Linked DNA regions of Homo sapiens: regions 2, 3 and 4 are each linked to region 1. Evidence: promoter capture Hi-C in 16 types of primary human blood cells and fetal thymus (Javierre and others, 2016). All regions are on one chromosome and are shown on one strand. Each heading gives the region's core, a stretch centred on a gene start or on the middle of the fragment in contact. The rest is flanking DNA. Distances are from core to core; before and after follow the strand shown. Region 1 holds the start of MAPK10-AS1 (MAPK10 antisense RNA 1). Region 2 has its middle 94 kb from the start of WDFY3. Region 3 has its middle 140 kb from the start of WDFY3. Region 4 has its middle 150 kb from the start of WDFY3.

What was found. Contacts are between HindIII fragments. The CHiCAGO score rates a contact against its expected background, and 5 or more counts as called.
Region 2: a fragment that was not itself captured here is called in contact with the fragment with the promoter of MAPK10-AS1 in region 1 in 4 of 17 cell types (total B cells, naive B cells, M1 macrophages and 1 more); the score reaches 11.7 in total B cells.
Region 3: a contact is called between a fragment that was not itself captured here and the fragment with the promoter of MAPK10-AS1 in region 1, in 5 of 17 cell types (M0 macrophages, naive B cells, monocytes and 2 more). The highest score is 8.1, in M0 macrophages.
Region 4: a contact is called between a fragment that was not itself captured here and the fragment with the promoter of MAPK10-AS1 in region 1, in 4 of 17 cell types (M0 macrophages, M1 macrophages, M2 macrophages and 1 more). The highest score is 6.7, in M0 macrophages.

What each region holds. Positions count from the first base shown.
Region 1 is chr4:86,118,136-86,121,464 of GRCh38, forward strand. MAPK10-AS1 (MAPK10 antisense RNA 1) reads left to right here and starts at 1,671. Exons shown (of 4, transcript NR_110879.1): 1 at 1,671-1,748; 2 at 1,849-2,466. The region is part of intron 4 of MAPK10 (mitogen-activated protein kinase 10); the gene reads right to left. The HindIII fragment of the contact is 8,901 bases long and covers 1-3,329 here.
Region 2 is chr4:85,058,831-85,062,159 of GRCh38, forward strand. No RefSeq gene overlaps it. Among named protein-coding and RNA genes, the nearest start is that of WDFY3, 94 kb to the left of the region's middle. The HindIII fragment of the contact is 1,913 bases long and covers 609-2,521 here.
Region 3 is chr4:85,101,236-85,104,564 of GRCh38, forward strand. No RefSeq gene overlaps it. Among named protein-coding and RNA genes, the nearest start is that of WDFY3, 140 kb to the left of the region's middle. The HindIII fragment of the contact is 1,870 bases long and covers 565-2,434 here.
Region 4 is chr4:85,117,103-85,120,431 of GRCh38, forward strand. No RefSeq gene overlaps it. Among named protein-coding and RNA genes, the nearest start is that of WDFY3, 150 kb to the left of the region's middle. The HindIII fragment of the contact is 6,129 bases long and covers 1-3,329 here.

The DNA.
Region 1 (3,329 bases), core at 421-2,920:
ATCTTTCCCATTTTCTGTAATTCCTCAGTGATTACTGGCAGAAGTTTAGCAAATACATCTGCAAATTGGCATCATTGATGCGGTACAGTCACAGATTCATGTCTGAAAGTTTTCTATTACTCTTGAGTCATCTATTTTTCCAAGAATCTTGGCCTGTGGAATCTTACTTTTTTTCTTTCAGTATTTTTTTCTTTCTGCTATCTTTATGCAGGTAAAAATGGAGATAGGTCTTTATGAAGATTTTTCCAACAATTCTCCAGCCACACTGCTGAAGATTTTCCAGCAACTTCTTGGCATACAGTACTAACACACCTCCACTTCTACCAGGTTTATTCCTAAAAGAGTGATAGAGCTTTCTGCTGTTATGCTCCTGTCATTTAATTCAGCTTGATGATGCTATAAAGCTATGTTTACCTCCTTGTATGTATTTATATAAATACACATACACACACACACACACACACACACACACACACACACATCTCTGAAGGCAAATCTTGTTCTCAATATATTTATCAGGTATTTTTTTCTTCTGACAATTGCAGATAACCTCTTACACAAATGTTCTTCTTCCTAAGTCATAATCATTTATTTGACAATTTTTCTTGTTCCTCTTTCCCTTTACATTTAAAATGTTTGTAATCATATTAAATATTTGTGGGGGAAATCCCTAAGCATTACTGGAGCATCTTAAACATCTTAAATCATAGCCTGGCAAACCAAATTCTTTAATAAGAATCATGTTTTTGAACCTGCCAAATTCACTTCTGCCTTAGGATTCTGCAATTGTTCCCCCTAACAGGAATGCTCTTCTTGCATCCTCACTTGGCTAACCCCATTTGTGATTCAGATTTCAGCCCAAATATTATCTCCTCAGAGAGGCTTTTTTTAGTTTTTCTATCAAAAGTCAACAGTTGATTTTTTTGGTTAATTATTTTGTCATTGAATGGTTTGGCTGTACAAGTTTGGTTATATTTGTTGAGAATACTTTCAATTACAAGTAACAGAATTCTGAATAATAATAACTTAAGTAATAAAGATATTCATTATATCATATAACAAAGTATAAAAGTAGGCTTATCAAAGTTTCAGAGATGCACAGTGATTTTTGAGGGCCCTACGCACTTTTGCCTTCGATTTTCTGCAAATTTGTTCTCAGCATGTTGGGAATAAAAAGCCAATAGGGCCGGGCGATGTGGCTCACGCCTGTAATCCCAGCACTTTGGGAGGCCGAGGCGGATCACGAGGTCAGGAGTTTGAGATCAGCCTGGCCAACATGGTGAAACACCGTCTCTACTAAAAATACAAAAATTAGCCAGGCGTGGTAGCACGCACCTGTAATCCCAGCTACTCAGAGGCTGAGGCAGGAGAATTGCTGGAATCCGGCAGGCAGAGGTTGCAGTGAGCCACTGCATTCCAGCCTGGGTGACAGAGCAAGACTCCATCACAAAAAAAAAAAAAAAAAAAAAGCCAATAATAGGAGAACTCTATTAATGTATCCAAGGGCAATGGTGTAGGTGCTGTGATGCAAGAAGATTCCCTGTCAGGAATAAAGGGCTTATTATGTCAGATGCTAGGTGTGCTGCCAGCAGACAGCCTCTCAGCTCTTAGCCCCCTTTGAGGATGACCTCAGCTGACAAAAGCTGCCTAACCTAGCCTACACACTCTTCATAGGTAGCCTTCATTCAATGACTGATGAACATGTGGTTATAAAAGCCTGGCCACTTCACCCCAATTCAGGACAGCTGGTAAGGCTCATTACCTCTTCAGAACTCCCAATAGGGTCAGCAGAGGCTTCTATTGAGATTGTATTGCAGCTGAACTTGTCTCTATTTTCTTTTTCCACAGGTGTTGGCCCCCAAAATACTTCCTAATAAATCTCCTGCATGAAATCACCATCTCAAAGTGTACCTTCTGGAGAATACAGTGTTTGGAAAGCAGTAAGTCATGGCTAAATACAGCAATATGCTCTGGAGTTCACTTGGATACTTCCCTAGGCAAAAGGCAAGTCCAATTATGGATAAACATGGCTAGACTACGAGCTCAACATCAAGAAAAGCCATTTCACCTATGTAACCAACTAACCTAGATGACCAAGCCTAATTATAGAGTTTTCATTCAAAACCACTTTGTGCTTGGTAGACACTAAATTGAAGCAAGGCAGCAAGTGGGTCTCACAGCCAGTCCCTCAAAGACGTATCAAAAGCAGGAACTTCTTAAAACACTAGAAACTGAACTAGTACTTTACAACCCATCAGCAAACTAAAGACGGGGAAGACCACACAAAGATTATTCACCTTAATCAAAAACATGGGACCAGCTCAGCAGCTCATCACCACAGAAAATAGATGAATGGAAAGAAAATGGCTGCTCTAGACACGAGGCAATTTCTGGAAATCAGGATGGTGACATTGGAGAAGAAACTGAAGATTCTTGGAGAAATATTAACTTCATCTCAGTAAAATGGTAGGTGATGGAATGCACACAGACTGTCTCAGTTTCTCTTCTTTGATCTTTGTGACAAATTGTCTCATGCCCATTCTGCTCCTTTACTGACCATTCAATGGACCATTCATATATTTATCTAGTCGATGTTTTAGTCTACAAAATTCACAAAGCTGCCAGGCTGCCAATTGATAGGGTAAGCTGAAAACTTGGGAAATTAGACTGGCCAGCCCTGCTATAAGGCATATAGGGTGTAGTTAGACAGCCTTGCTACACTGATTTTGCCATTTACTGTGTGGTATAAACCAATAATTATTTGGTTTTTAGTGTTTAGTAAATATTTTCTAACTTTGCAATAAAACCCTTCCGACAGAAATAAATAAAATTAAAACTACATATTTAATTAAAGTACTATATACTAAATTTCTATTTCTTATATATTCTTGGTCACAACCAAATGAAAACCAGAAACAGTTCTCCTAAAGGACCATCAGCATCTATTTCAGTTAGTAATTATTGTAAGAAGGCTGTGCCTACATACGATGATTTAACACATGCAGCTATGTCTTAGTCTATTTGGGCTGCTATAACAAAACATCTGAGAATGGGCAGCTTATAAACAGCAGACATCTATTTCTCACAATTCTTGAGTCTGGGAAGTACAAGATCAAGAAACAGCCAGATTTGGTGACTGGTGAGGGCTTGTTCCTCATAGAAGGCACCATCTTGTTGTGTTCTTACATGGCAGAGGGGATAACTAGCTCTTTGGGGTCTCTTTTATAAGGGCACTAATATCATTCATGAGGGCAAATCCTCATGACCTAATCACCTCCCTAAGATGCCACTTTCTAACAATATCACATTGGAGATTAAGTTTCAATATA
Region 2 (3,329 bases), core at 315-2,814, 1.1 Mb before region 1:
AAAGGCCCCTGGCAGCTTCATAGAGAAAACCATGAAATGGGGAGGAGAGGGAGGGAGAAACAGGGAGACTTAGACTCAGCAGTTGTCCATGTGCCTGTTTATCATCCTACCCAAAGATCACATTTGAGAGTCCAAAGGGATTATGGAAATATTTAGGAGAGGATTCCAGCAGGGTGAAGTTTAATGGCTGCTACCACTTTTTCCCCATAATAAATGTAAATATTCACCATCAGTAAAACTTTTGTTGGTGGAAATTTCTCTTGAAATTACAGAAAATGGAGAGGGCCCAGCACTGTGGAGCAGAACAAGGACAAGAGTGTACAAAAATTGAGTGAGAGACTCAGGAATGCAACAGGAAAGTTAGAAAGAGGGAGTAATGATGGTGAAAAGGGTTAGCACACTGGGGTCTTGTGAGGAGCACAATTTTGTTATCTGTATCTGGTTTTCTGCCTATTATGCTAAGCCTTGGTACTGTCAGATGCTGAATACACATGGGGTAGATGGTATAAGATGGCAGCCTCAGTTCCGTGTTTATTACTCATTCTTCTTCAGCATGGCAAGAATAAATGATGGAAATCAGTGTTCTCATCCTTGATTCCCCTCTATCAAGCTTCCCTGTGTTCAGTTTTCTATGAAGACACAAAGAACTCAGATTTTTTTTTGCGATAATGAAAAGAACCCACAGCCCCTTTTGTTATCCAAAGTTTTGAGAATGATATTTCAATGCATATTTCATCTTGACACTCTTCTGCCCTGTGGCTGCACTTCCTAGGAAGAGACTGTGGCTCTAGTAAGGATTAATCAGTGACCGACTTCACCCCGTAATTGGAAGTAGAGCAGAAGTCCGAGAATGACAATACAGCTTCAAAGCCCTTTGTTTGTGCAAAGTGTCTCATCATGATTTGAAAAATCTGCTTGTTTTCATATAAACCTCTGAGGTAGGTTATTGTCACTGCTATTCTAATGATGGGGCTGTGGAGCTTGGATAATTCATACAAGGTTATATCAGAAGTTATGAGCTTAGAATGAAAACTCAAAGTCCTTGTTTCACCAGATTATTGCCCTTCAAGTCACATAATTATGGTGACAAATGGGATAACCAGGGATAATGTGTTAAGAAGTGAGATAGGCATATAAGTTTGTTATTGTAAAAAGTTGGAAGACAAAAGGGGTCATTATTCATGCAAAAAACGTAGTCTGTGCCATGCTTTTAAGCCACTAAGGACAATTACAATAAAGTGATACATTTGCTTGTTTTTGTTGTTATTTGTGCTGTGTCTATTACCTGAATACTTTCTTTGCTTTTAGGTTTATCAAGTGATTCCATGTTGGTGCCTGTCAATGGTAGAAACCAGCAAAGTACAGCTTGATGTTCCCCTGAGCAGCATGATGCTTCTGTATTTCATACTCAGAAGGCAAATGATGAATAGATAGTTAATCAGGTAAAATAGGATCAAAATGCAGTAGAGGTTTTAACAATCTCATTCTGCCTTTCCTTTTTAGAATCTTATGAGATATAGTGCTCCATTGAGAGAGAAGGACATGGGGGGTGAGAGCAAGAGAGAGTAGTCTATTATCTTACTCGATTTCCTGATGCAGTGGTTAACAAAAGGGGGCCTTTTTATATTAGATATGTGAATCACAGATGAAGCCTAAGGTGGTGTCAGAAGGAAGGTTTGGGCTTTGTGAAACAGAGAAGGAAGTTATTTTACGTGGATCTGCGGCAGAAGATTTAAAAGGAGGATCCTCATTGTTCCTTTCCAATTGCCATTCTATCCAGGAGGGATGGAAGTGAACAAAGGCAAGCAGAGTAATGATAGCCTTATTACAACACAGACTGAAGAGACAGCTTCTGAAGGCAGACAGTAACACAGCTTATGGAGAGACATGGGCAGGACTAACCATAGTAGAGTAACAGTCCTTTGAATGCCACTTGTGGGAGAATTGGGAAATATTTCTCACATCTGTGTGTCAAGAGTAAGAACAATTGTAAGAATGATTGCATAGGCAATATGAAAAAAGGCTGAGGAATCCTGTGTCAAGTCAAGAAGGTGTAAGGAAAATTTTCTAGCTGGCTCCCCTCTCCTTCAGGAGAAAATAATCTATGAGACTATTTAAGTAGAGGAGCTCACTTTTTCTGATTTTTTTTTCTGCACATCTGGATAATTAGTCACTATATTTTTGGGGAGGGAGAGAAAACCAACTGGGCTAGGACTCCTCCTTTGTTTCCCATGGTACCTTGTATCACCCACATGATTGTGCTTATAACATTGTAATGGTCTATGTTCTCATCTATACCCCCACAGGTACAGGCTCTATGAGGCAGGGATCTTGTCTGGCTTGTCAGTGTAGCATCTCCAGCGCCTGGTGCAGTGTGCTTCATACTTAGTACACTAAATGGGGTTACTTGTCCAAAGGAATGAATAGTGGATCAAGGAAAGGGAGTGTATAGATAGGAGGAAAAGTCAGATAAAGTCAATTTCTGGTTCCTAAATCTAATCTTCTTTGTACTTTTTAAAGAAGCTTGTAGTATATAATTTAGCATGTGAGCTCTGGGCCCAGAATGCTTTGGTTCCAAATCCAGTTCTGCCATCTCCAGGCTGTGTCATCACAGGAGTTCCTTAACTTTATCTGTGAGTGGGGACAATGATGCCCACTTATATTAGGGACTGAGTTTGGCTGTATGTATAGAAAACCCAAATAAGAGTAGTTCAAATAGGATAAGCATTTATCTTTTAATTCCTAATGAGAAGTCAGTTGGAAGAGAGGTAGTCCAGGGCTATGACGCCATGACCCAGGCTCTCTTCACCCCTTTGTTCAGCCATCCCCGGAGGCTTTCTTTCCTTATGGTCACCTGGTGGCTGCTGGGGCTCCAGCTATCACATTCACTCTGCAGGCAGGAAGAAAGAGAAGAGCAAAAGCAAACTCCACTTCCTAGTAGAATTTGCTTCCTTTCAAGGAGATTTCTCAGGAATCTCCACCAAAAACTCCCATTGATCTCTCATCGTCCAAAACTGTATCACATGAATCCCCCATCTGAATAAGAGTCTGGGAAATGCATTTTCTTTCTTTTAGCTGGACATATTGCTAACCCCACGATTAAAAAAAAGATTATGTTGGTAAGGAAGAAGTGAAAGATGAAAATTGGTTAGGCAACTAACAATATTGGAGAAGGTGAAGACACACAGTGGTTACTCAGCAAATGTGACTGTCTCACATTTAAATTAGACTTGTGATTTTCATTGAGAATGTATATAAGTATACAGAAATGGTGGCCATATACACTTGAACATTGGGCTTAAGCATGTCCCTTTTGGGGAGTGTCACAG
Region 3 (3,329 bases), core at 250-2,749, 1.0 Mb before region 1:
TTGTTACTCTAGTATTTTCCTTCACTTTCACGGTAGTGTTAACATTCACCATATAATTCATCATTATGAATAGAGAGAGCAACGGATAAAACAAGAGTGTTTTGTTTCTGGATGAATCCCAGGAAAATTTTAAGTCCCTTATTCAATTATGCATGGTACCACATTATGAATATGGTGAATGATACGGTGAATGTTAACACCACCATGAAAGTGAAGGAAAATACTAGAGTAACAATAGTCAGAAGTCTCTTCTGATTTATAAAACTGTAAGAGAATAAATTTATGTTGCTTTAAGTCATCAAGTTTATGGTTACAGCAATCATAGGGAATGAATTATAAGAGTCTTACTATAATAAGCCAGTAAAGAAATTTTAAAATACAGTTCAAGGAAAAAGTTCTTATTTGACAAGGCAGTTTTAAGGAGAAAAGAAAGCTGAAGTGCAAAGTGAGGATGGAGTAGAAAGGTAAGAAAAGAGTAGCAAAGGAGAAGGGAGTAGCTAGGTGAGGCTGTGAAGTTTGATATCTGTCGAAGACTGGCCAGAATAATGAACTGGAAATGGTTTAAGCTTACTTCTGCTTTGGTTGCATAGCAAACAACTATGTAAATTATGTCCACCAGAAAAGTACACCAGTGAATGTGTGCAGTTACCTGATGACCCTCTTGTTCCTCAAGGAGCTGTCACCTAGGTTCTGTGATCAAATATTGCCTTTTAAGTAATTAGTCTGAGGGTGGGGACATGGTCTATCAGTGGTCCACGTACAACCAGTGAAGTTCTTCCTACCTGTGCCATAGTCGCATATGACTATGTTCTATTTTTTGTTGTGTTTTGGGTCTATAGCAGGCCTGGACATAACCTACCACATGAGCTTTCCAAATGCTGAAAGATAATATCTCATACAAATTCCATTTCACATTCTATTTTTTTCAGTAATTGAGTTTATATTATAGTGGTAGCATTTTCTTCTTTATTCCTCCAGTAAGAAGCGGAGGTTCTACTCAATTTTGAACTTGTCTGGTATATATATATTGCACAGACTCTTTTTTTTGTCTCAGCAAAAATGATGTAAGATAGAAAACCCTCTGTTGCTAGGTTGAGAGGGAGAGGAAGAGAGAGTGACGGATAAAACAAGAATGTTTTTTTTGTGGATGAATCCCAGGAAAATTTTAAGCCCCTTCTTCTGTTATGCATGGTACCAAAACAACATGGCCCTGTCATAGTGAGAGGTTAGACCTAGATGAGGAAGGTGTCCAAGCCTCAAGGTTGAAGGCCATTTAAGTGTGATACTGAGAAAGCAGCCTAACATTATCAGCCTAACATTATCAGGCTTCCTATGGGAATAAGATAATCTATGGTACCCTGTGGTTAGGACAAGGAGGACAGAGTGTGGGGCCCAAAGATGCAGAGAAAATATTTAAATAGTCATATTTCAGCAGATAACAGTGCAGGAGACATAGGGAATCATGTGAAATGAGGGATGTTTCCAAGGAGGTGATAAAGATCTAAAAAACAAGGACAGGAGTACATCAGATGCCCCTTGTACTGGTGCCAGGATGATAAGTAAGCGCCTCAAGAATGTAGATTATGCAGAAAAGGGAGAATCTAAATAAGCAGTCCCTGAGATGATACCTCCCAAAGACTAATCTGAAACAGCATGAGTTAATCTTACAGAAAAAACTGGGGCCTCAAAACTGGATGAGGTTAGTTCTAAAAATAAAGCAATTTACATTAAAACATTTTTTGGGACAAAAATTTTGACTCTCACAATCCCTTAACTTACATTCTTAAGTACTTCTTAATTATCTCAAAGAATGGTGATCATTGACTTCATACTTGTCAAGCCTAGTGACTCTTCTGTAGTCTTTATTCTACAATTTCTGTGCTGGTTTTAGAACCATCTTCCCTCAGATTCCTCCTCACCCATATCCTTCTCTGGGTTGTACTGTTGGGGTCTGTTTCCTGGTCTTCCATACGGCTTGCTTATAGGTGAGACAATGGGAGACCTGCTGAAAACTGTCAGGGGATTTTTCTGCCAACTTTAATATCTGAATCATACCTAGGTCTGCTTTGATTTTTTAAATTCTTTTGACTTTTAAGACACATTTTACTGCCTTTTCAAATGTCCATAAATTGTGATTGTTGCATTATATTACAATGGGTGGTTCACTCATCTTCTCTATCCCCAACCTCAAGCATAAGTAAGTTTCCTAATGATTACAGCACCTGGCTCATAGAGAATAGACATTAAAAGTTTATTGGCTAAATGAATAGCTATAGGTATGGGGTGAGGTAACAGAGAGAGCCTCCTCCTGAAGGATTGATCAGAATCAATGTTTGCCATAATTGCGATATCCTACTGAGAATCACTTTCTGTAAGTGTAATTCATGGAAATATGCCTTATCCTCAGGAATACTCATGTAGAGAAAAGGTGAGAAGCTTTGCTTTATAGAGAAGAGAGTTTTCCATACAGGCCTGCCTTTTGACTTATTGGAAAGGGAGAGGACTGGACTGAAAATGAACGTAGATCCAAAAATGGTACAAATATGGAGATAATGCTTTTCAAACTTTTCCTTCTAATTACTCATCAGGGCAGAGGAAGGTAAATATGCACATCTGGATCTGAGTTGGAGGTAATGATGATGTGGACCAAGAAACCAATCTGCCATAGGCTAAGAGTCTATCTTGAACATTAATTTAGATGTCAATTCTTAAGTTAATATTCAAGATAGACTCTCAGCCTATGACAGATTGCCTTCTTGCTCCATATGGACACACGGAGGGGAACAATAACATACTGGGGATTTTCAGAGGGTAGAGGGTGGGAGGAGGGAGAGGATCAGGACAAATAACTAATGGGTACTAGGCTTACTACCTGGCTGATGAAATAATCTGTACAACAAACCCCCATGACACAAGTTTACCTATGTAACTAACCTGCAGTTGTACCCCTGAACTTGAAATAAAAGTTAAAAAAATGTCAATTCTACTCCTACTTGTGTGTTTGAATATGAAAGTCTTCTCTTACTTTTTTTTTTTTTTTTTTTTTTTGAGACAAAGTCTCGCTCTGATGCCCAGGCTGGAGTAAAGTGGCACAATCTCGGCTCACTACAAACTCTGCCTCCTGGGTTCATGCCATTCTCCTGCCTCAGCCTCCCCAGTAGTTGGGACTACAGGTGCCTGCCACCTTGCCCGGCTAATTTTTTGTATTTTTAGTGGAGACAGGGTTTCACCGTGTTAGCCAGGATGGTCTCAATCTCCTGACCTCGTGATCAGCCCGCCTCAGCCTCCCAAAGTGCTGGGATTACAGGCATAAGCCACTGCACCGGGCT
Region 4 (3,329 bases), core at 615-3,114, 1.0 Mb before region 1:
TTCTAGCTGTGTGGAACTGTGAGTCCATTAAACATCTTTCTTTTGTAAATTGCCCAGTCTCAGGTATGTCTTTATCAGCAGCATAAAAACAGAGTAATGCAGTAAACTGGTACCAGGAGAGTGGGATATTGCTGAAGAGGTATGCAAAAATGTGGAAGTGACTTTGGAAGTGGGTAACAGGCAGAGGTTGGAACAGTTTGGAGGACTCAGAAGAAGACAGGAAAATGTGGGACAACTAGTCCTAGAGACTAGTTGAATGGCTTTGACAAAAATGCTGATAGTTATATGAACAATAAGGTCCAGGCTGAGGTGGTTTCAGATGGAGATGAGGAACTTGTTGGGAACTGGAGCAAAGGTGACTCTTGTTATGTTTTAGCAAAGAGACTGGTGGCATTTTGCCCCTGCCCTAGAGATTTGTGGACTTTGAATGTGAGACAGATGATTTAGGGTATCTGGCAGAAGAAATTTCTAAGCAGCAAAGTATTCAAGAGGTGACTTTGGGCCCTATTAAAAGCATTCAGTTTTAAAAGGGAAACAGAGCATAAAAGTTTGGAAAATTTGCAGCCTGACAATGTGATAGAAAAGAAAATCTCATTTTCTGAGGAGAAATTCAAGCCAGGTGCAGAAATTTGCATAAGTAACAAGCTGAATGTTATTCCCCAAGACATTTGGGAAAATGTCTCCAGGGTATGTCAGAGGTTTTCAGGGCAGCCCCTCCCATCACAGGCCTGGAGCTTTAGAAGGAAAAAATTGTTTTGTGTGTTGGGCCCAGGGTCCCTATGCTGTGTGCACCCTAAGGACTTGGTGCCCTTTGTCCCAGATGCTCCAACTGTGACTAAAAAAGGCCAAGGTACAGCTCAGGCTGTTGCTTCAGAGGGTGGAAGCCCCAAGTCTTGGCAGCTTCCATGTGGTGTTGAGCCTGTGCGTTCACAGAAGTCAAGAATTGAGGTTTGGGAATCTCTGCCTAGATTTCAGAGGCTCTATGGAAACTCCTGGATGTCCAGGCAGAAGTTTGCTGCAGAAGTGAGGCTCTCATGGAGAACCTCTGCTAGGGCAGCGCAGAAGGGAAATGTAGGATGGGAGCCCCCCCACACAGAGTTCCTACTGGGGTACCACCTAGAGGAGCTGTAAGAAGCGGGCCACTGTCCTCCAGACCCCAGAATGGTAGGTCCACATACAGCTTGCACTGTGCACCTGGGAAAACCACAGACACTCAAAACCAGCCTGTGAAAGCAGCTGGGAGGGAGGGGGAGGCTATCCCCTGCAAAGCCTCAGGGGTGGAACTGCTCAAGACCATGGGAACTCACCACTTGTATTAGCATGACGTGGATGTGAGACATGGATTCAAAGGAAATCATTTAGAGCTTTAAGATTTGACTGCCCTGCTGGACTTCAGACTTGCATGGGGCCTGTGGCCCCTTCATTTTGGCCAATTTCCCCCATTTGGAATGGCTGTATTTACCCAATGCCTGTATCCCCATTGTATCTAGGAAGTAACTAACTTGCCTTTGATTTTACAGGCTCATAAGTGGAAGGGACTTGCCTTGTCTCAGGAGACTTTGGATTTTTGAGTTAATGCTGAAACGAGTTAAGACTTTGGGAGACTTTTGGGAAGGTATGATTGGTTTGGAAATATGAGGACATGAGATTTGGGAGGGGCTGGGGGTGGCATGATATGGTTTGCCTGTGTCCCCACCCAAATCTCATCTTGAATTGTAACTCCTATAATTTCCATATGTTGTGGGAGAAACCCAGTGGGAGGTAATTGAATTATGGGGGCGGGTCTTTCCTGTGCTGTTCTTGTGATAGTGAATAAGTCTCATGAGCTCTGATGGTATTAAAAACAAGAGTTTCTCTGCACAAGCTCTCTCATTCTCTCTCTTGCTGCCTCCATGTAAGAAGTACCTTTTGCCTTCCACCATGATTGTGAGGCCTTTCTAGCTGTGTGGAACTGTGGGTCCATTAAACGTCTTTCTTTTGTAAATTGCCCAGTCTTGGGTATGTCTTTATCAGCAGCAGGAAAATGGACTAATACAACCCTATACCAGAGTAGCTGGACATTGCTGGATGACAGTTAGACTACCATGCTGACTGGCCTTGCTTCAGATTTATGACCCCTGATCTCAAAATCACTGAGCACTTTCAGAAACTCCTATTTCAGTTTTCTAGTAAATTCACTGTCATCCTCTCTAGATGACTATTTCACACCTTCTCTTCTCCAATCTCAAACACTGATTATTCTGTTTTACTCTCAGTTGATGACTTGGTTTTCTACTTCAGAGAGAAAATGGATATAATCAACAAAAACATGCTACTTTCCTACCACCCGCCTATATCTTCAGTCACATATGCTCTTTTCTCCTGTATTTCTCTTTTTCTCAAATTTCTCCATTTCTCAAACCGTTCTTATGTTTGCCAGCTCTCTATTTTTGTTAACACATCTCTAACTGCTGGAGTGCCCAGAGTTTATTTTTCAACCCTCTAATCATCTATAGTTACATTTTCTTAAGATACCCTGCTTAGTCCCAAGGCTTTAAATGCCATCTATATGCTGATGGCTCCCAAATTTTTATTTATAATTTTGAACTTTGTCCTGAAAATCAGAATTGTATGTCTGATATCTTACACAGTATTTTTACTTGAGTGTCTCTAACCAAACATGGCTTCTCTTAATTTTCTGAAAAAAATCATCTCTCAATCTTTCCATTTATCAATACATGGTATTATCATCCACTCAGTTGCTGTTCAGGCTGAAAACATGGGAGTTATTCTTGAATCCTCTTTCTTTCACTGCTCACATTGAATCTACCAGACAGTCCAGTTGCCTGTGTTTCTAAATTATATTTTATATCTGACTATATCTCATCATTTCCAGTGCTGTAAACTAGACCAAATTGTCACTATATTTTACTCAGAGCACTTAGAAGTTCCTAAAATTATTGTAATTATTTTGCTTATGTTACTGTCTGCTTCCATACATTAGAATGTCAACTCACTGAAGGTAGGGACATTATCTTGTTCCCTCTTGTGTACCTAGCACCAATACTAGCACATACTAAGGGATCAATAAATATTTTTGCCTGACTGATATTTTAGTGGAACCTGTCTTTCAGAATAAGCATTGAACTATAGAAAACATCTAAAAATTTATATTTTTGAAATTCCAGCAATTAAATTATCTCAGTGGTTCAATTTTAGAAAGTTAATCAATCATGCTGGTACCTAGCTCTCAGCTATAAACTATTCATATAACATGACTCTAATGAGTCATTTAAAATATTTATATTTGTGTGCATATATATGTATACATTCATATATACACACATATA